2 separate regions of the Homo sapiens genome follow, and region 1 is linked to region 2. Evidence: promoter capture Hi-C in 16 types of primary human blood cells and fetal thymus (Javierre and others, 2016). All regions are on one chromosome and are shown on one strand. The core of a region is centred on a gene start or on the middle of the fragment in contact, and the rest is flanking DNA. Distances in the headings are between cores, read along the strand shown. Region 1 holds the start of PER1 (period circadian regulator 1). Region 2 holds the start of NEURL4 (neuralized E3 ubiquitin protein ligase 4).

What was found. Contacts are between HindIII fragments. The CHiCAGO score rates a contact against its expected background, and 5 or more counts as called.
Region 1: a fragment that was not itself captured here is called in contact with the fragment with the promoter of NEURL4 in region 2 in 1 of 17 cell types (activated CD4 T cells); the score reaches 5.3 in activated CD4 T cells.

Annotation. Positions count from the first base shown.
Region 1 is chr17:8,150,591-8,153,824 of GRCh38, forward strand. It overlaps PER1 (period circadian regulator 1), which reads right to left and starts at 1,814. Exons shown (of 23, transcript NM_002616.3): 1 at 1,747-1,814; 2 at 1-255. The coding sequence starts at 116. RefSeq lists enhancers at 438-547, 1,761-2,055 and a silencer at 708-807. The HindIII fragment of the contact is 3,689 bases long and covers 1-3,158 here.
Region 2 is chr17:7,327,840-7,330,969 of GRCh38, forward strand. NEURL4 (neuralized E3 ubiquitin protein ligase 4) reads right to left here and starts at 1,496. Exons shown (of 29, transcript NM_032442.3): 1 at 1,192-1,496; 2 at 1-45. The coding sequence starts at 1,473. RefSeq lists enhancers at 769-1,428, 1,411-1,705, 1,641-1,820, 1,851-1,900, 2,781-2,930 and a silencer at 1,201-1,440. The HindIII fragment of the contact is 8,367 bases long and covers 1-3,130 here.

The DNA of each region.
Region 1 (3,234 bases), core at 64-2,563, 820 kb after region 2:
GGGCCTGGGCAAGGCCGGTGCTGTGGGGGCCCAGGGGATGGGACGCCCCCAGGACAAAATGATTCCCCAGGCCTGGGGTCCCCTCCCCCATCAGCCCCTTCTAGGGGGCCACTCATGTCTGGGCCATGGGGAGAACAGAACAGAGAAGGCAGAGAGGCCACCACGGATGCACGAGGGGGCCTGGAGGCTTGGCTGAGGGAGTGAGGTGGAAGATCTAAGTCTCTGAGGGTTGAGAAGTTCGATCACAGCCAGTACCTGGAGAGGGAGACCAGGAAGCAGGGCTTGCAGAAAGCTGGTTTAACTCCAGAGCACCTGCTGGCTTCACTCAGACCTTCCCCCTGCCTGGCCTCCTGCAGGACTGATGGGAGTGGAACCCAGGCCTGGGGCTTCCAATGGGGAGTCAGGATGTCTCCTGTACCCTTAGGGGGACTGCCAGCGGGAGAAGGTTCTCCGGGGCCTTCCTTCACATCCCCTGCCACCATGGCCTGAGCAGTCAATGAGAACCACGGCTGTAGACAAAAACCTGGACACTTCCCATTCCCAAGTTCCCATTAGGTGTCCACTCTGCCTGGGCCTCCAAGGCCTCGGAGCAGGAGGTGAGCTGGTCGCCTCCTATATTTAGGCCTCCAGGCTAATTTTATCCGGGGGCGGTGCCACCCCCGCTGCACATGCGCGCCGACGTGCGCGGCCCCACCACGCGCTTCCGCCGCCGCCACGGTCGCCAGGGAAACCGACGTCAGCTGCTGAGCTCAGCGGTTGCTGGAGGGACCACAGGAGGGCGGGAGGAGCGACCCCTCCCCCATTTCCCGGCGGAAGTGGGGGAACGGCCCACTCTCACACTGGTGGGCGCGGCCGGGGGGGTCACGCATCCCTTACATATCCCCAGTCCCAGGATGGCTCGGTGGCCGTAAGAAGTGGGACGGCCTATTAGGATCCCAGGGTTGGTCCTGGCTTCCCCAGGACGAAGCACAACGGCCACTGCCCTCGGCGCAAAAGCCCCTCAACCTGACTCTCGCCTGGATCCCAGTCATTCTGGTCAAGACAACACAACCTTTCCTTCTTTAGCCCCTGCGCTGCTTCCCCACCACAAGGACCGAAGCCGGCAACCTGCCATCGTCAAGGACCCGAGGATCCTCTCTCTTCAGTCCCCTACTTTTCTGGCCAGACCCCCCCACCAACCCCAAGCCTTGGGCAGAAGACACACAACAGCCAACAGATCTTTCTTCCCCTACTCCCCGTCCAACCACACCCCTACTACTGAGCATTTTCTGAGCGCCAGGGGAAAAGGGAAGGTTGTGGCCAACAGCAGGAACCAGCGCTGGGAACGGGATGTTCTAGTCCGAAGTGGGCTGACATCACAGGCGGCGCAGGGCCAGGGACTGGAGAACAGAGACACGGGGAGCGCTGAAAGCCTAATAGGGTCCTGGTACCGGGGCAAACCTGGGGCCCCTCGAGTAACGAGCAAGAAGACCGGGGCATGCCCGCTGAGAGTCGGCTGTGGGGCCGGGAAAGCTGGGACGGGGAGGTGGGGACAAGCTGGAGGTAAGATGAGTGGGTCAGGAGTGCAGACTCCCGGTGCAAGATTTCGAGGAGGACTTCGGTCCTTGGGGGCAGGGAGAGGGTGGGTAGCGGTAAGGACGACAGTGTGCCCTCTGCCTGGGCCGAAAGTAGCCCATCAGATTGGAAGTGGCAGCGGTCCGGCTCAGGGACGGAGATCGGCCCCAGGATGGCCGCAGAGATGCCTACCTGGTCGCAGGAGTGTCCTCCGCACGCCTGCCCGCCGCCGCTCCAGCCCGCAGCCGAGTGGAAGCTCCACCGGGCGGGCGGGGAGGCGGGTTGCATAATGCCGGGCACTGCCCCCTCATTGGCCTCTTGCCGACGGAGCCGCAGGCCCCGCCCCCGATTGGCTGGGGATCTCTTCCCGGCGCCTGATTGGCTAGTGGTCTCCACTAAGGTCAGGGCTGTGTCACACACACGGGCGCACGTGGACCTGGGTGCTGGTGCTGGGCTGAAGAGCCCCAGACACCGCCCAGCCAATGGGCGCAGGACGCTTGCACATTGAATAATGGAAGGGAGGAGAGAGGGAGATACGCTGCGCCTCTTTAGGGAAAAAGCCCGGCCCGGGGTAGGTGCTCAAGACTTGTCTACTTCCTGAACGCACTAGCCTTGCAGAACACAACATCTTGGCATCTTCGCCTTTCCAAGGGTGAGGAAAAGGAATGGCGCTGCAAGTTAGGCCACGCTGGATGAGATGGGTGGTCCTTGAGAGGAGGGGAGAGACAGAAACCTGCCTGGGCCTCTCCTGGGTTCCTTTCCCAACCTTGTTCCCTCCCAACCTTCGTTCTACATAATGAAGCCCTTTAACCGAAGCACTTCCTCTGACACTTCAAATCCTGGGAGAGGACAGTTAAGGGTCCACGTGTGACCGGTGGGTGAGTGGGTGGAGGAAGGATGCGGACAATGGAAGGGGCAACCAGAGCCAATAGTGGCTGTGAAGGGAAACAATGGCAGGTGCTTCTATGGCCACTCAGAGACAAGGTCTCCGGGCAGCCTACGTGGTGTCTAGTACTTTCCTCCAGAGGACGCAGCCACCCACAGTTAAAGCTGCCCCAAAAGTGGGGGCCAGGAAGCCAGGACTACAGAGGGACCAAGGGGATGGCCCAGAGAAGAGGCCAGCTGGGGCCCTAGACAGAGAAATGTGGGGTGGCAAGGGCTTCATATTTCCACTGCTTGGAAAAGAGAAAGCCAAACTCCAGGGGCCCAGACGGAACGTCATCTGTCTCATTCACTGTAGTCTCCAGAGCCCAGGACAGGACCTGACACATGGCAAGTGATCGATAAACATGATTTTTTTTTTTTTAAACAAGGATAGGTTGGGGAGGTGGGAAAAGAGTGTCAACAGGAGAAAGGGGGCTGGGAATTCTGATTCTCTAAAAGAGATGAGTAGTCCTAGAAAGAGAACAGGGGCACGATTTGCAGGCAATAAAATGTTAGTCTGGGCTCAGGAGAGCTGCAGTTACACAGCCCCCTCCATCCAGGACCGTGATGAGTAGTTCCTCGCAGGGCTCCCTGGAAACGTGGGTAGTAGATGAACAGGCCTCCAAGCAGCTGCTGACATAATCATTGTGGGGGCACTCCCCTCACTGTCACGTGGCCTAAGCTTTCCTGAACAATGAGGGAAGGGTGAAGGGGAGGGCTCTGTGGAAAAGCTGAGACAAGATCGTGTTATAAATT
Region 2 (3,130 bases), core at 246-2,745:
CAGCGCTGTCACCCCAATCTCAATGGAGCCGCTCCAGGAGTTGACCTGGGATAGGGGTATTGGACAGAGGCTTAGAATGGGCCACCCCCCATTCCACAGGCCACCATATCTTCCCACCTCTCAGACAGCTAGCTGGCTTTCTGTCTCTTGGAACACTAATCCAGAGATGCAGACAGTGATTTTCTGGACTCCGTCTTGGTAATTATTTGGGCTTTCCTTTAGCAACTCTGCTCTCTACTCAGTGTTTACTAAACCACTCCTTTCCAAGCCAAGCACAAATTCCTTGGTTCCAACCTCCTGCCTCCTCTAACTTTCCTTGTCTCTATGGCTCTCCAACCATCCAAATTCTCCTACTTCCTATACCCACACCTCTTGCTCTTGTGTATCATTCATTCCTTTCCCCTGGCCTAATTCTCTCCAAAGATCAGGCTCTACCCAGATTCAATCTCCTTCCAAGTTCTTTTTCTGTGAGCCTGGCCTCTTCACTGAATCACACACACCTCCCTCACCCTGGATCTTTCTCCTCACCTATCTTTCTGGCACAGCCTCTGTCCTTCAATGGTTTGTTCTGTTTTTTTGAGACGGAGTCTCACTCACTCTATTGCCCAGGCTGGAGTGCAATGGCATGATCTCAGCTCACTGCAACCTCTGCCTCCCGGGTTCAAGCCATTCTCCTGCCTCAGCCTCCAGAGTAGCTGGGATTACAGGCGCACGCCACCATGCCTGGCCAATTTTTGTATTTTTAGTAAAGACGGGGTTTCACCACGTTCACCAGGCTGGTCTCAAACCCCTGACTCTAGTGATCCGCCCGCCTCGGACTCCCAAAGTGCTGGGATTACGTTTGTTCGTTCCTTGGCATCTTTCTTCACTTGCCATCACATCTCTGACATCTCTCCATCCTCCATGCCCAAGAAATTGTACCAGGAGGTCTGTTCCCAGCCATTCTAGTGGGTTAGCCCTCGTGTCCCTTCCCTGGTTCTGGATCTTGAGAAAACTCAAGCTCTTAATGTCATCTTCAAACTCAATGTTTCTGCTTCATGCTGTCTTCCTGACCGCCCCCTGGTGCTCTATGGTCTTTCTGTTCCCTCTCGGTGCCCGGCAATGTGGGCTACCCTGGCTGTCCTACCCCGTCTCCCTCTAGACGCCTCCCACCACCCTCCACATCTCTGTTCCGCGGTACCAGCGCTGCACCTTGCGGTCGATGCGGACGGTGAAGACGCGTCCATCGCGCAAGGGTTCTCGGCTCAACACCAGCCCGTGGTTAAACTCCTGGCCCGGCTGCTGCCGCCGCGCCGTACGCCCACAGGCCGACAGGCTCACCAAGCGCCCAGTGCGCGGGTGCAGTTCCCCGCCGCTGCCCAGACCCCCGTTGGACCCCGGTCCTGAGCCGCTCCCGCTGGGGCCCCCACCCCCGCCCGGCCCCGGTCCAGGGCCTCCCCCAGAGCCCCCACTCCCACCCGACCCTGCCGCCATCTCCGCTGACACCGGGGCAGCGCGACAGCCGCGCTTGGCGGCACCGTGGCAACCGCGTCGGGCAGACAGTCCGAGGGATACGACCGGGGGGCTGAGGCCAGGTATGCTTTACGGCACTGCCGGGCAATGAAGCAGCCCGCGCTAGGAGCTGGGGACGACCACGATGAGAACAGAAGGACACGGGGTCGGGAGCCTCGCTTTACGGCATAGCGAGGTGACGGAGCGGCTCCGAGGGGGACGAAGACCTGGGCAGGGAGCTTTTGCGACAGTGGGAGAAAGACACGCCCACCGCAGGCATCTTTACGACGGTGGGGTGCTGGAGCCCAAACACTTTCTGCTTTGCGACAGCGGCACCGACGACCCCGCCCTCGCTAGGGGGCGGTGACACCTTGAAGCACTCGCTTTACGGCAAGAGGGGGTGTCTCCCCTCGGGATGCAGGCTCCAAAGCAGCGTGAGCCGAGTCTGGAGGACCCAGAGAAGCGGTAGTGAAAGTCTCTTCCCGCCACCCGACTGAGGACGAAGTGTCTTGCAACAGTGCGGCAGTCCTTCCACTTTGCCTCACACCTCTTCTGATTGGCTGAGCTAGCCGACTGGCGGGGGTGGGGGAAGCTCGCTGATAGTTCAAGTCAAGCCCAGCTTCAACTCCAACTCAACCAAACTATTCCATGTTAAGACCACAAAGAGTCTAAAGAAGTCCCGACAGGCCGTTTCAAGCGACAGCGTTGATGACCCCAAAAGATCTCCCTTAGAGCTATTAACAAGCCCCCTGCCCAACTCCCCGAAGCTCAAGCTCAGGCTGGAGGACCGTGAGGTCACAGTCGAAGCTCCTGGCCTGGCCCCCTGACTGGGATTGGCTGGTTTGGATGAGGGTGGTGATGGAGAAGGGCGGGAACAAATTGCCCAGACAAAGAAAATCTTTGGGTGGGACACAAAGGAAAGGGGCGAGCGGAGGGACCCCCAGCCCGAGTCTCTATATAGTCTTGATTCCGCCCGCCGCAGCTCTGGAGCAGGGGAGAAGTGGACCCGGGACTGAGCCCGAGCATCCCCGGCCGGCAGCGGTGGGGGCGGGGCCAGGGGCGGGGCTACGTGGAGCCGGGAGGCGGGTCAGGATCGCTGAGAGCAGCCCCCCAGTGGGGCCATGGAGAAGGTGGAGTCCCTAGGGGCTGCTGGCGGCCTCAACCGGGATTCCCCTGGAGGGGCAGCCAGAGGAGTGCCCGCAGCGGTCACAGGAGTCGAGGCAGGCGCTGGGCAGCCCTCCAGAGTAGTCTTGTTTCACGGTTCTGGGCCCCACGTGCACTCAGGGGGCTCCGTAACTCATAGTACTGGTTCAAGCTGTCCCTCCGGGGGGATAGTGGTCCTTGGTTCCGGGCCCAGTCAGCACCCAAGGGAGGCTGCGAACCACAGCCTTGGGTCTGGCAGGAACCCTGGTGGATTCAACATCCCCGGGCCTCGAACCAGTGTATCCAGGGCTTCCAGCCCCGGGCCTGGGGGACCTGCAGGGCAAGAGGTAAACAGCCCCGGGTGCAGTCCGCACTCTGGGCCAACTTGCTTGAACCCCCAAAACTCCCAACAGGACCGGCCCCGGAGCATCCTACGAAAGAACAGCTCCAACTTGATGCAGAAATCCCCCAATGTGGAGAAGTAAGGAGCCCAGCT